Regions from separate parts of the Homo sapiens genome. Here all the other regions are linked to region 1. The links are contacts of gene promoters, found by promoter capture Hi-C in blood cells and fetal thymus (Javierre and others, 2016). All regions are on one chromosome and are shown on one strand. Each heading gives the region's core, a stretch centred on a gene start or on the middle of the fragment in contact. The rest is flanking DNA. Distances are from core to core; before and after follow the strand shown.

Evidence for each region. The method cuts DNA at HindIII sites, captures the fragments that hold promoters and counts their contacts. A CHiCAGO score of 5 or more calls a contact.
Region 2: a contact is called between a fragment that was not itself captured here and the fragment with the promoter of MRPL46 in region 1, in 6 of 17 cell types (megakaryocytes, naive CD4 T cells, total CD4 T cells and 3 more). The highest score is 6.6, in megakaryocytes.
Region 3: a fragment that was not itself captured here is called in contact with the fragment with the promoter of MRPL46 in region 1 in 8 of 17 cell types (naive CD4 T cells, total CD4 T cells, non-activated CD4 T cells and 5 more); the score reaches 9.2 in naive CD4 T cells.
Region 4: a contact is called between the fragment with the promoter of MFGE8 here and the fragment with the promoter of MRPL46 in region 1, in 1 of 17 cell types (total CD4 T cells). The highest score is 5.7, in total CD4 T cells.
Region 5: a contact is called between a fragment that was not itself captured here and the fragment with the promoter of MRPL46 in region 1, in 1 of 17 cell types (endothelial precursors). The highest score is 5.4, in endothelial precursors.

Annotation. Positions count from the first base shown.
Region 1 is chr15:88,466,032-88,468,731 of GRCh38, forward strand. MRPL46 (mitochondrial ribosomal protein L46) reads right to left here and starts at 1,357. Exons shown (of 4, transcript NM_022163.4): 1 at 1,119-1,357. The coding sequence starts at 1,346. MRPS11 (mitochondrial ribosomal protein S11) reads left to right here and starts at 1,677. Exons shown (of 6, transcript NM_022839.5): 1 at 1,677-1,751; 2 at 1,877-1,993. The coding sequence starts at 1,687. RefSeq lists enhancers at 1-891, 1,358-1,527. The HindIII fragment of the contact is 6,788 bases long and covers 1-2,700 here.
Region 2 is chr15:88,857,085-88,859,784 of GRCh38, forward strand. ACAN (aggrecan) reads left to right here. Exons shown (of 19, transcript NM_001369268.1): 12 at 1-2,333. Among named protein-coding and RNA genes, the nearest start is that of HAPLN3, 37 kb to the right of the region's middle. The HindIII fragment of the contact is 8,083 bases long and covers 1-2,700 here.
Region 3 is chr15:88,878,089-88,880,788 of GRCh38, forward strand. It overlaps HAPLN3 (hyaluronan and proteoglycan link protein 3), which reads right to left. Exons shown (of 5, transcript NM_178232.4): 4 at 879-1,181; 5 at 1-168. Among named protein-coding and RNA genes, the nearest start is that of HAPLN3, 16 kb to the right of the region's middle. RefSeq lists an enhancer at 462-1,037. The HindIII fragment of the contact is 2,785 bases long and covers 1-2,700 here.
Region 4 is chr15:88,912,020-88,914,791 of GRCh38, forward strand. MFGE8 (milk fat globule EGF and factor V/VIII domain containing) reads right to left here and starts at 1,360. Exons shown (of 8, transcript NM_005928.4): 1 at 1,228-1,360. The coding sequence starts at 1,300. RefSeq lists an enhancer at 570-1,101. The HindIII fragment of the contact is 11,396 bases long and covers 1-2,772 here.
Region 5 is chr15:88,810,471-88,813,251 of GRCh38, forward strand. All of the region lies in intron 1 of ACAN (aggrecan), which reads left to right. Among named protein-coding and RNA genes, the nearest start is that of ACAN, 8.4 kb to the left of the region's middle. The HindIII fragment of the contact is 1,391 bases long and covers 812-2,202 here.

The DNA.
Region 1 (2,700 bases), core at 107-2,606:
AGCTGGGTTGGGCAATGCCTGCTGACTCACCACAATCCAGTCATGTCAGTCTTTGATCAGAATCTCACTCACCAAGGACTTTCCTGTTCAGGGACTTTCAAGAGGTTGTTCCTTCTTCCTAGAATGTTTTTCCTCACATTCTTTCTTCTGGGAGAGTCCTACTCATCTTTCTGATTTCAATTTAAATATGACTGTCTCAGAGAGACATTTCTCATAAAGAGAAAAACCTGTATTCAGAAAGTCTGAGGCATTCCTTGACACTCACCATAAAATCAAAATGTGATGTATTTGTTAAACACTCTTATAGTGCCTTGTGTTTTCCTTAACAACACTTATCAGGGTCTGCATTTAGTTGTATGATTATTTGGTTACTGACTGATCCCCTCACTCAACTAGACTGAAGTACTCTGAGAACCAGAGCTACTTCTGCCTTATTCATTACAGCATCTCTATCACTTAACATACTCTCTGATGCATAGTATGGGCACAATGAACATCTGTAGGTTGAGTAACAAATATTTGTCAAGCGAGCGAGTAAATGAATAAATCAAGCAAAAAGCACAGAAGAGAAGTTTATAGTTCTCAACAGACCAAGACAAAAACATCTCGGATTCTGAGGAAACATATCACCCTTCAAACACTTTCTGTAGCGACCTCACACCTTCACAGCCACTACACTGTTTTTGCCCATGCTTCCTCACTTGCCCCTCACACAGATAGCCCCATGAGATAAAACAGAGTAGGCTTATCATAGGCATCTGACAGATGTGCCCACCGCCTCTTGTATTTCCTTCTTAACATTCATCACATCACAAAGACTTTCTCCCTCCAGACTTGTAAGCTCCTAGTGACACGGACCGATTCTTGTTCACCACAGGATCCCTATTGTGTTGCATGAACAAGAAGTAGAGTATCTCCAAAGAGTTGTCTAAGGTGACAATAAACACGGCCAATGAAAAGAAACCACTTTTTGTTGAACATCTATGTACCAAACCAAGTCAGTAAGGTAGGTACCATTCTGCGGATAAGTACCGTATACTTAAGTTCAGAGAGGTGAAATTACTCGCTCAAAGTCACGCAGAATAAACGTCACTCTGAACCCTGCATCTCAGTCCCACCTGCTGCAGTAGAGACGCCATCTCTTCCTGCAATGGGGTCAACGGCTTGGAGACTACAGGTGGCCGCTGCAGGCACAACGCGCCCAACAAGCGCCATGGGGATCCGTTGCTTGAGGGTGCGGCTGCAAGAGCCAGGCTGCGAGAGCTTAGACTGCCGGCCCAGAGCCTCTCGAACCGCCGCCAACCCCCCGCCACCCCTAACAGCGTCCGCCTTACGGGCGCCGCCATCTTTCGTTCTCCCACAATGCACCGCGGCTCCCAGGGATCCCTCAGCCGCGGGAGCGGCAAACTAGGGGAAAGCTCAGTCCCGGAACTGCTAGAACGAACCATTCGCATATGGAGGGGGTGACCCACCATCTCAGAACATTAAAAAAGGGAAAGAATCCCCTGGTGAACTACAGTGAAAGTCTTATTGAGCATTTAAATGGAAATAAAAATATTCAGTGGACCTAATGAAGAGTAGATGACTTTCCCTTCTGTCCCCTCCCCGACAGGCACTCATGGTACCGGCGCCGGCGCAGCTGTGACTGTCGCTGCAGACGGAAACTGACTGGGGTCAATTCAAGTCATGCAGGCTGTGAGAAACGCGGGGTCGCGGTTCCTGCGGTCCTGGACTTGGCCCCAGACAGCCGGGTAACAAATGACTGCCCCCTCGAGCCCACCGCCACCTCCAGGACTATGCTCCTACTCGTGTCCCTTGAGCCACCCGGGCCCCAGTGACCGTTAGGCCGTGGCCCTCACCGAGCTTTTCTTCCCAGCAGGGTCGTGGCCAGAACGCCGGCCGGGACCATCTGCACAGGCGCTCGACAGCTCCAAGACGCTGCGGCCAAGCAGAAAGTTGAACAGAACGCGGCTCCCAGCCACACCAAGTTCAGGTGAGCCCCACTTGGACCAGCCCTCTGGAGACCCGCAACCCCTGACTCTTGCCCGACACCCTCCAGAGTCAGAACCAGTGAATTTTCAGCTATGTCACTTGCTATCCGTGGGACCTTATGCAAATAAATCTGAGCCTCAGCCTTCTCATCTAAAAATGCGGATAATGCTGAGAGAGGTTGTGAGAATCAGATGAGCCGTGGTACAGAGTAAATGTTCAGTGAACATTCGTTAAATCAATGAGTGAATGTGAGATATCCATAACATGTATCAGCGTTCTTTTCTTCTGAGATGGAGATCTTTTCAGACCAATAACCTTCCCTGCCTCCAAAACAAAATGGGGAGGTAGAGGGCGCTAGCGATGGAACAGATGTTCCTGCACGTCTTACGGATGGTCCAGGGTGGGTTTTGTGCTCAGCCCTAGGAACTGGCATCTTGCTTCCCACCAGTGCCACCACCTCTGTATGCTGTATACACATCCACTTAACTTCACATCCATTTAACAAACATTTACCAAGAATCTACTATGAGTGAGACACCATGCTAGGTGCCGTGAATACAGATACAAAAGATCATTCCTCCCCACAAGTAGTTCACAGTCTTTGAGGGAAGACAAACATGCAAACATTTTAACCATAATCTGCTCAATAATATAATGGAGGTAAGCATTGGTTGGAAGTATGAAATCATAAGTGTCTAACTCCTGGCC
Region 2 (2,700 bases), core at 115-2,614, 390 kb after region 1:
CTCTGGAATAGAGGATGTCAGTGAACTTCCTTCAGGAGAAGGTCTAGAGACCTCTGCTTCTGGAGTAGAGGACCTCAGCAGGCTCCCTTCTGGAGAAGAAGTTCTAGAGATTTCTGCCTCTGGATTTGGGGACCTCAGTGGACTTCCTTCTGGAGGAGAAGGTCTAGAGACCTCTGCTTCTGAAGTAGGGACTGACCTCAGTGGGCTTCCTTCTGGAAGGGAGGGTCTAGAGACTTCAGCTTCTGGAGCTGAGGACCTCAGTGGGTTGCCTTCTGGAAAAGAAGACTTGGTGGGGTCAGCTTCTGGAGACTTGGACTTGGGCAAACTGCCTTCTGGAACTCTAGGAAGTGGGCAAGCTCCAGAAACAAGTGGTCTTCCCTCTGGATTTAGTGGTGAGTATTCTGGGGTGGACCTTGGAAGTGGCCCACCCTCTGGCCTGCCTGACTTTAGTGGACTTCCATCTGGATTCCCAACTGTTTCCCTAGTGGATTCTACATTGGTGGAAGTGGTCACAGCCTCCACTGCAAGTGAACTGGAAGGGAGGGGAACCATTGGCATCAGTGGTGCAGGAGAAATATCTGGACTGCCCTCCAGTGAGCTGGACATTAGTGGGAGAGCTAGTGGACTCCCTTCAGGAACTGAACTCAGTGGCCAAGCATCTGGGTCTCCTGATGTCAGTGGGGAAATACCTGGACTCTTTGGTGTCAGTGGACAGCCATCAGGGTTTCCTGACACTAGTGGGGAAACATCTGGAGTGACTGAGCTTAGCGGGCTGTCCTCTGGACAACCAGGTATTAGTGGAGAAGCATCTGGAGTTCTTTATGGCACTAGTCAACCCTTTGGCATAACTGATCTGAGTGGAGAAACATCTGGGGTCCCTGATCTCAGTGGGCAGCCTTCAGGGTTACCAGGGTTCAGTGGGGCAACATCAGGAGTCCCTGACCTGGTTTCTGGTACCACGAGTGGCAGCGGTGAATCTTCTGGGATTACATTTGTGGACACCAGTTTGGTTGAAGTGGCCCCTACTACATTTAAAGAAGAAGAAGGCTTAGGGTCTGTGGAACTCAGTGGCCTCCCTTCCGGAGAGGCAGATCTGTCAGGCAAATCTGGGATGGTGGATGTCAGTGGACAGTTTTCTGGAACAGTCGATTCCAGTGGGTTTACATCCCAGACTCCGGAATTCAGTGGCCTACCAAGTGGCATAGCTGAGGTCAGTGGAGAATCCTCCAGAGCTGAGATTGGGAGCAGCCTGCCCTCGGGAGCATATTATGGCAGTGGAACTCCATCTAGTTTCCCCACTGTCTCTCTTGTAGACAGAACTTTGGTGGAATCTGTAACCCAGGCTCCAACAGCCCAAGAGGCAGGAGAAGGGCCTTCTGGCATTTTAGAACTCAGTGGTGCTCATTCTGGAGCACCAGACATGTCTGGGGAGCATTCTGGATTTCTGGACCTAAGTGGGCTGCAGTCCGGGCTGATAGAGCCCAGCGGAGAGCCACCAGGTACTCCATATTTTAGTGGGGATTTTGCCAGCACCACCAATGTAAGTGGAGAATCCTCTGTAGCCATGGGCACCAGTGGAGAGGCCTCAGGACTTCCAGAAGTTACTTTAATCACTTCTGAGTTCGTGGAGGGTGTTACTGAACCAACTATTTCTCAGGAACTAGGCCAAAGGCCCCCTGTGACACACACACCCCAGCTTTTTGAGTCCAGTGGAAAAGTCTCCACAGCTGGGGACATTAGTGGAGCTACCCCAGTGCTCCCTGGGTCTGGAGTAGAAGTATCATCAGTCCCAGAATCTAGCAGTGAGACGTCCGCCTATCCTGAAGCTGGGTTCGGGGCATCTGCCGCCCCTGAGGCCAGCAGAGAAGATTCTGGGTCCCCTGATCTGAGTGAAACCACCTCTGCATTCCACGAAGCTAACCTTGAGAGATCCTCTGGCCTAGGAGTGAGCGGCAGCACTTTGACATTTCAAGAAGGCGAGGCGTCCGCTGCCCCAGAAGTGAGTGGAGAATCCACCACCACCAGTGATGTGGGGACAGAGGCACCAGGCTTGCCTTCAGCCACTCCCACGGCTTCTGGAGACAGGACTGAAATCAGCGGAGACCTGTCTGGTCACACCTCGCAGCTGGGCGTTGTCATCAGCACCAGCATCCCAGAGTCTGAGTGGACCCAGCAGACCCAGCGCCCTGCAGAGACGCATCTAGAAATTGAGTCCTCAAGCCTCCTGTACTCAGGAGAAGAGACTCACACAGTCGAAACAGCCACCTCCCCAACAGATGCTTCCATCCCAGCTTCTCCGGAATGGAAACGTGAATCAGAATCAACTGCTGCAGGTATTGTGATTTTTTCCCCCTTTAAATGTGCTTAGGTAGTTCAGACTGTAGCCTACTGCAGCACAGAAGGAGGCAGCATAGCTTTAAGGTTCCAAGAACAACTCCACCAAAGGTTAGCTGTGCAGCCTCAGGCAATAGTCTTCCCCTCTCTGAGCCTCATCTGTAACGTAAGAGTAGGATAATACTCTACCAGGGAAGATTAGGCAGAACATAAACATAGATAGATAAAGCAAGCACTTAGCATCACGCTCTGCATGCAGTGCACACTTGTAAAGATGAGTGATGTTATCGTTACAGCGGAGTTACAGTCCGTGAGTTTTTACACGTGAATTCAACTATCTGTACTTGGCACAGGGAGAGAAGGATG
Region 3 (2,700 bases), core at 83-2,582, 410 kb after region 1:
GGACGCTACCATCTGCCAGCCAGCCAGCGTCGCAGCGGTCCAGGCCATGGAACTTCCAGGCGGCAAAGAGCTGTCCCACCTTGGCGATCGTGGCATCATCTTCCTGGCAGGCCTCCCTTGCCTCTGTCAGCGTCAGCTTCTCAGGGTGCTCCAGGTAGTACACCCGCCCTGGGGGAAAGGGGGCGTGAGTGCCGTACAGCGCAGGGGGCAGCCAGAGAGCACAGCGGGGTCTGCAGAGATGCCAGCCCCAAAGACCCGTCTGAGCCCAGGGAGCTACCATACTGCAGGCATCTGCAGAGAACACTTTCTAATCTTCACCCTGTCCCAGAGAGCTCTGTCCCACCTGCCATAGAACCCAGGTCCCTCCAGACATGTCTGCACTCCCCCACCACCCTTCCCTATTTAGGTGGGTGGGCACCCCACCTAGGCTGGACCAGTCAGAGTCTCTTGCCCATTCGGTCATTTACTGAACACCTACTATGTGTCAGACACTTTTCCAAGGGCTTGGCATATGACACTGAACCAGTTTCTGTTTTTACTTGTTCATCTTCCTACGAAATGAGCTGCTTTGTGAAGACAGGCTGTGTTTTATTCGTCTGTGATTCCCGAGAGCCTAGTCTAGGCCCCAGCATATGGTAGGCACTCAGTAAACATTTGATGAATGAAGAAACCAATGATTTATGCCCTGCATAACGCAGCAGCAGCAAAGCACTCAAAACTCAACCAGATGCTGCTTCTAGGGTGGCTGGTGCTCTTGGCCTCCAGGTGGCAGTACCAGCAGAGCCAGCAGAGGGGGCCAGAGCTCCCCAGAAGCTGCCCTCTCACAGGTCCCAGGTGGCCACCAAACCCACAGGCCCGCGCTTGGCTATTCCACTCACCCTTGAGGGCAGTAGCGAAGCAGAATACATCATAGCGGTGCAGGCGGCGGTGGCGGGGGCCGTAGCTTCGCACGCCAGGTGCCAGGCCCGGGCCACCGCAGGGCTGCCGGGGCAACATGATGGGGTACTGCACCGTGGCATCCTGCAGCCAGCCCGCGTTGCACCAGTCCAGGCCCTCCTCCCAGGCCCGGAAGAGCTGCTCAAAGGAGGCCACCACCGCAGCCTGCTCTGCACAGACCTGCTGGCCCTCGTGGAAGTTGAACTGGTAGCGCCCGTTGGGGGACTGGTAAGGAAAGACCACACCTGCAGGGGAAGGAAAGAGGAGCTTAGGGGGTGGCCAGGGGCCCAGCTGGCTGGACACCCCGCTCTCCTCCCACCTTCACTGGGACATGTGCTGCCTGCAACACACACACATACACCATCCCTCAGAAAAACTCAGCAAACCTCTGACCTCCTGTCCGTTGCCGCCTCTCTCCTGGGACTCAGCTGGTTCACAGCAGTACTCAGAAAACATCCATGAGTTAAGGTAATTAATTAGTCCATTAATGTCCCCAACAATGTCCCCAACCTAATCCGCAAGGCTGTCGCCAGACCCCCAGTGAGGCTGTGCCATCTTCTCCAGACAGGCCCGGGCTTTGGGCTCTAGGGGCCAGGTTTGACTCCCAGCTCCCCACTCGTTAGCTGGGACCCGATCGTCTACGTTATTATGAATGTGGAAATTTCCTAGGAAAATGCAAGGAACTTTCCACGTGTGGCAGATGATTTTCAGGAGAAGGAGAGGCCCTAGAGGCCGTGGGGAGAGGGTTGGGGAAGGGCCTTCCATAAAGGAGGCTCAAGGGCAGGGAGGTCTGGGGCAGGCGGTTTCTCTCCTTGTGGTCAGGGTCTGATAGAGGCCACAGGCCCTGAAAAGATATGTTCGTGTTTGAAATTTTACTCTAATAAAAAGTTTTTAAACTTCTGAGATGTAGTCTCTACCAAGTCAATGAAACCTTAGGGAGTGGAGGTGACCCTAGGGGTCTGGGAAGGACACTTTGGAATCTCCTCCGTGTGGCCAAGGACCCAGGAACAGCCTGAGCCCCAAACCTCCGATCTCACCAGGGCCGGAAGCCAGGCACCTGGGCAAAGCCAGGTTGGGCGGCAGAGAAGCCCATGGGCCCTGACAGTCAGCTTGCAGCCTCTACGTGTGTTTGCAGGGGGACTATTTCATGCCTGGTTCCACCCCAAATTCCTAGCCCTTGAAGCCCCGGGAATGGGGTGAGGGCTCCCTGTTTCTCTAGGCTGCCCCTGCAGACCCCAGACCAATGACTCTTGCAGGTTCTCCCCAACTCCACTGCCACCCCAACTTCAAGAATGAGGAATGCGGCCCCTCTGAGCCACCATGTAAGCCATGTGGACACTGGTGGCAAAGACAGAGAACGCATTTTAAGGACATACATCTTATCCTCATTGCCTCTGAGGGAGGTAAAGGAGGAAAGATTGTGATACCCCATTTTACACCTGAGAGGCCCAGGGCTCTAAGGGGGATGAGGCATTTACCCACATGTCATAGCTGGGACGGGCTGGGGCTAAAGTCAGGTCACCTTCCTCTATCCCCGAACTGCCTCCCTAACATGTGGGAGAGATGTGAGGACACACAGCCCCATCCTAGAGACAGAGAAGGTAAATACAAATTAAAGATCAAACAGGGACCCCACATACAAGATCCGGCTTGCAGGGTGTGGCTGGTTTGGACAGCACTGGGTTTTTGTTTTTGGTTTTGGGGGGGCTTTTTGTTTGTTTTTTGTTTTGTTTTGTTTTTAAAAAGGAGGTTTTTACATAAAAA
Region 4 (2,772 bases), core at 110-2,609, 450 kb after region 1:
CTTCCCTCCCAACTGCACCGGCCCTCTCCCTACACTGCTCCAGGGCAAAACGGTCCAGTGGGAAAAAGGGAAAGGGAAAGGTGTACTCTACCCAGCCACGTTACCTGTGTGTAAGATAGGTATGGTGTTTCCTCCTTCTGGAAAAGGCCACATCACCCTGTATAAAAACATCTTTGGGACTTCAGAGTCCTGCTCTTTCGGGGACTTTCCAGTAACATTTGGCCAGAGTTCAGGTTGGGGGGTACAGGGAAGAGTAGAAAGGGGCTAAGAAGATCCAGCTGTCTTTCATGGTGGCCGGGGAGGGCCAGGAGCTCCCAAGTTCCTGGGAGCTTGGAGCACTCTGGAAGCTCTAGCCCCGAGGGTCAGGCAGATCACAGGACATAGGGCTGGGGCTCAGCTGTTACCTACCTTGCTTCAGTCAATCCCATTTCTATGAGAAAATGATGGAGGGGCCACCTAAAGAGTCCTGGCCCTGACTCCCTCCCAGCGCTCCACGGTGAATGGCACGGGGCATCCGCAAGTCCAGCCTGCAAGGGGCCCAGCTGGCCTCCGGAGGCCTCCTGGGAGGCGGAGGAGGACCGGGGAAGATACAGCAGCCGGCCAAGGCCGCGGGAGGGAGGGAGTCAGGAGACTCCCATCAGCAGGCAGCCCTCTTCCAAGCTCCTCGAAGCCTCTGGGTCCCCTCCCGGGCCCCACTTACGGCCTGCGTCCATTGCACCGACTCCCCGGCCCTTCCCTTATGTGACCAGGCACGGACAATTGGGAGCGCAAAAATCCAATGAACTGTCCAGCCAACTGGAGTTGGCAGGGAGATGGCCAGGACAAAGTTATCCAGACAAGACTTATCCATACTAGAGTCCTAGAATCTCCCAGGTGGAAGGGGTTCGAAAGTCAAACGCAGTTCCCTGGCCTCATTTTTCACCAGGGAAAAGAGAGGCCCGACACAGCGGATTCCTTTGTCATTATCTGTAAGCCGCATCCCTGGGGGCGGCAGGGCTGTCACCCGATGTCCCGAGTCCCAGCCCAAAAGCCCCAGCGCAGAGACAGCAGGGCCGCATCCCCCTGTCCCGCCAGGGCGCAGCGGAAGAAGCCGCCCCTCTGCCCAGCCCGGTCCCCGGGGCTTTGTCTAAGTTTGTCAACAGTGGAGGTGGAGGGCGGGCGCCGGGCAAACTTCCGAGCGGCGCGGGGAGGAGGGGCGAGGGGCAGAGGGCGGCGCGATCCACTCACCCAGGGCGACGAGGAGGCTGGGGGCGCAGAGCAGCGCGCCGCACAGCGCGGCCAGCAGGCGGGGGCGCGGCATGCTGCGGGGACGCGGGCGCTGGAATGGGCACGCTGGGCTGCTCAGACCCCGCGGGGTTCTGGCGCCTTCTCCTCTGGGACCGGAATAAATCAGGCGGCTCAGCACCTCCCACTGGCCGTGCGCTCCGCCCAAGCTGGCCAGAGGCGGACTGGGGGCGGGGCTCCGCGGCTGGGAGGGAATTGGTTGAAAGGAATTGGGGGGCGCGGGGGTGGTCCGCGATATCTGCCTCTTCCGCCACTGCCACACCGGCGTCCCGCGTCGTGCCAACGGCCGGGTCACGAGTCTTGAGTCTGTTGGGCGGGAAAAGTTCAGGAGTTTTGTTTTTAAGATTTTTAGACTTGAAAAGATGCTAACTCTTTATTCATAATCAGATAGATGCAAATTAAAACTACAATGAGCATCGTGTTTCCCTTCTCGGATCGGCAAGTATCAAGATGTTAACAAGGTTAGTGGAGGCTGTGGGGAACAGGTCCAAGCATGCTTCGCTGAAGACAGTATAAATTAGTTCAACTTCCCTAGAGGGCTATTTGGTAACACCTATCAAAACGACAAATGCTGACACCTTAAGACCTAGCATTTCCACATAGAGAGATTCATTCTACAGAAACTCCCATGTGCAAAATGACAGATATACAAAGATAGCATAGCAACATTGTCTGAAATGGTAAAATACTAAAAAAAAAAAATCAGCGAAGGTTTCTGTAAAGGGCCTAATAGAAAATGTTCTCTGATATGTAGGCCCTGAGTCTCTGTAGCAGCTATTCATCTCTGCCTTTGTTGCAAGAAAGGCACCATAGACAAAATGCGAGGAAATGGGCACCTGTTTGCCGAAAGGGAATAAAACAAAGCAAGCCTGTCACCGTTGACTTTTTACTAAATGATTTGTACTTATCATGTGCAAATATTACCTGTTTACAAATAAGTGATTTTAATAATAGTGTTTTGGCTGGGTGCGGTGGCTCACACCTGTAATCCCAGCACTTTGGGAGGCCGAGGCACGTGGAACACCTGAGGTCGGAGTTCAAGACCAGCCTGGCCAAGATGGTGAAACCCCGTCTCTACTAAAAATACAAAAATTAGCCGGGCGCAGTGGCAGGTGCCTGTAATCCCAGCTACTCGGGAGGCTGAGGCAGGAGAATCGCTTGAACCCAGGCGGCAGAGGTCCCAGTGAGCCGAGATCATGCCACTGCACTCCAGCCTGGGTGACACAGTGAGACTCTGTCTCTAATAATAATAATAATAATAATAATAATAATAATAATAATAATGCTTCAGGCTGGGAGTGGTGACTCAAGCCTGTAATGCCAGCTCTTGGGGAGGCCGAGGTAGGCATATCACTTAAGCTCAAGAGTTCGAGACCTTCCTGGGCAACATGGCAAAACCCTGTTTCTACAAAAAAAGAAATACAAAAATATTCCAGGCGCATGCCTGTAGTCCCAGCTACTCAGGAGGCTGAGGTGGGAAGATCGCTT
Region 5 (2,781 bases), core at 257-2,756, 340 kb after region 1:
GATTTTTCCCAGCAAAGTCTGGACCCTTGGCCTGACCCTCCCCTCACTCCATCCCTCCCCAAGCAGATGCTCCCTGTCTCCCCTCCAGCCCATCTCCCTTTGACCTGCATATCCAGATGGCTCAGGGGAAGCCTGGATTCTAGGATGACTCAGGCAGGAATGTAGTAAATGTTTTTCAACGTCACAAGACACTGAAAAGGAGGCCTGGAGGTGTCATTAGAGTTAGCCTTCAGTCCCTAAAATTAGCTGCATCTAAGGAGCTTTTCAAAAATACGGGTGGCTGAAGCCCTAATGTGCTCCAAGAGATTCTGCTTCAGTGAGATGGGGGCTTGGAGGCGGGGAATCTGTGGTTTTCAAAATTGCCCCAGGTGATTCCATTGTGGTCTAGTTTGTCAACTCCTAGTTTAAAGCCCAAAACAGTTCCTCAGAGTGTATTTGGTTCTAAGATCTTCTCTCTAGCCCTGCCTCTTGGGCCACTTGCTCTCTTCCTTCCCCAAGGGCAGGACTACAGCCACTGCCCCCAGTTTGTCCTTTAGGGGAGTGAGAAGGTCATGGCCAGCTTCTCCTGTCTTCACTTCCCTGCCTGAGACAGGGGCCCTTCCTCCCTTGGTTCTCCAAGGTGGTTTGTATAGAACACGCCTTCCAAGGCCAGCAACAGGCTTTGTAGGTGAAAAGGATCTCATCCCTCAGAGAAAGTCAAGGATGAACAAAATTAACCCTAGTTAATTTTGGGTCTCTTCCCTGCAGGGCTTCTCAAAATGCTGATGGACCTTGGAAATCACCAAGTTTTTCAAACTGAATTTGACCGTGAAGCTTTTTTTTCCTAAAGCAGATGGAGGGACTTGAGCCTAAAAAGATGCTAATCTAGGCACGGGCCCAGGTTGAGCCTGCAGCAGGAATACAGCAGCTGCACCCAGGCCAAGGGGCAAGGGGAGACCCCACCAGGTAGGGCTTAAAATCCTAAATCTCAAATGAACTCACTGACCCAGCAAGCGCTCTCCAAGCCCCACATCTCACATCTGTAACCTTCCCTCTAAAGGCTGGCCATGCTGGGTACTCATTTTCTTCCTTTTTCTGTGGATTAGAAGACAACAATGAGGTAGAACATTCAGTGGAGTTCACTGTGGGGTGGGGTGGGGCTCTGACCCCAGGGGATTCCTGCCTCTCCACTTGTTCCCTATCCATACCTGGCCACCTGCCTCCCCTATGTGAGCTGAGGGCCTAACCCTCTGTTGTTCCCTGGCCTGTTGGGTGACTCCAGTGGGTGCCAGTCCCCTGGAAGACTTGGACTAGCACCAATGGGGGTGAACAGCAGCCCCCTGGAGCTGAGTAAAGAGGTGCCCTGCTTGCATGCTTGTCTCTGTCGCCTGACTTCACTGCCCCATCCATGGGCATCACCCCCACCCCAGACTCACGTGACCCAGCCAGGTGCTTTGTTCTCCCCCATCCCCCTAAAGCAGCCTTGTTCTGAGATTCCCACTTGTTTCCTAAACGCAACCCAAGTGGGTCTCTGTTGTGACTTGTCAATATTTTGACAGAGGGTCTCCTGGTGTGGGAGACCTGATTGCTTAGATTGCCTCCACACCCACTCCTGAGCGGGAGGAGGGTTAGGAGTGGGGATGGCTTCATTAGCGAAGGAGGAGCCTAGCCCTCGGGTTAGCGCCTCGGCCTCCTGCAGCCCCATCTAGGCCCTCCCCATCTGCCCTCTTCTCTGGATCTGCCTTCTCAGTGACCCAGGGACTCCCGGGTTTGCACACAGCAGGGTCAGCAAGACTTATGTACACCAGATAAGGCTGATGCTTCAGCGGTTGGAAAACAGGACTCCCACCCCCTCCTAAGTCACTGCAAGTACTGCACAGAATGACTCGCCCTTGGATGCACACAGCAATTGATCAAGGTTATTTGCATATTTCCTCTCAGCCCCCTGGGGATTGCAGAGGCATTTAGAAGACCTTAGAGATGGTCCTGTCTCACTTAAAATCAAGCCCAATCCCTAGCCTTGGCCTACAGGCCCCCAAGCTGGCTGGTATCCCCTCCTCCTCACATCATTCTCCCCTCCTCCACCTCCCTGCAGCCCCTGGCCTCTCACTTCCTTCAGGACTTTTGCCCTCTCGGTCCCCCTGCCCAGGTGCTCTTCCCACAGGGCTTTGCATGGCTGGTTCATTCTGGTCATGCAAGTTCAAATGTCACCTCCTCTTGGGAAGCTTTTCTTTTTGTGCCCATCTGATTTAAAGAAAACAAACACCCCCACTCCCATCCCCTGCATTTTTCTTTAACTTATCATTATCTAGAAATTCTGGCTGGTCAGTTTCCTTGGTGATTCTCTGCCCTCCTGAGCTCCACAAAGAGCACTCCTTCTCACTGCACCAAGGGGAGTGAGGAGGTCATGGCCAGTTTCTCCTGTCTCCACTTCCCTTCCTGAGACAGGGACCTTTTCTCCCTTGGTTCTCCAAGATGGTTTCTATAGAACATGCCTTCCAAGGCCAGCAACAGGCTTTGTAGGTGAAAAGGATCTCATCCCTCAGAGAAAGTCAAGGTTGAACAAAATTAACCCTAGTTAATTTTGGGTCCCTTCTTAATATGCTGATGGACCTTGGAAATCTCCATGCAGCAAAAGCTGCATGGGACATGAGCCCCATCTGTCTTGGTCACTCTGTGTCTCCAGCACCTAGGAAATGCTTGGCACACAGTAGGTGGTCAAGAAAAGTTTGTTGGCTGGACAAATAACTTCAGAGCTTTTCAAACCATGCTTCAGAGTCCGCGGGGGTCAGTCCATGATAC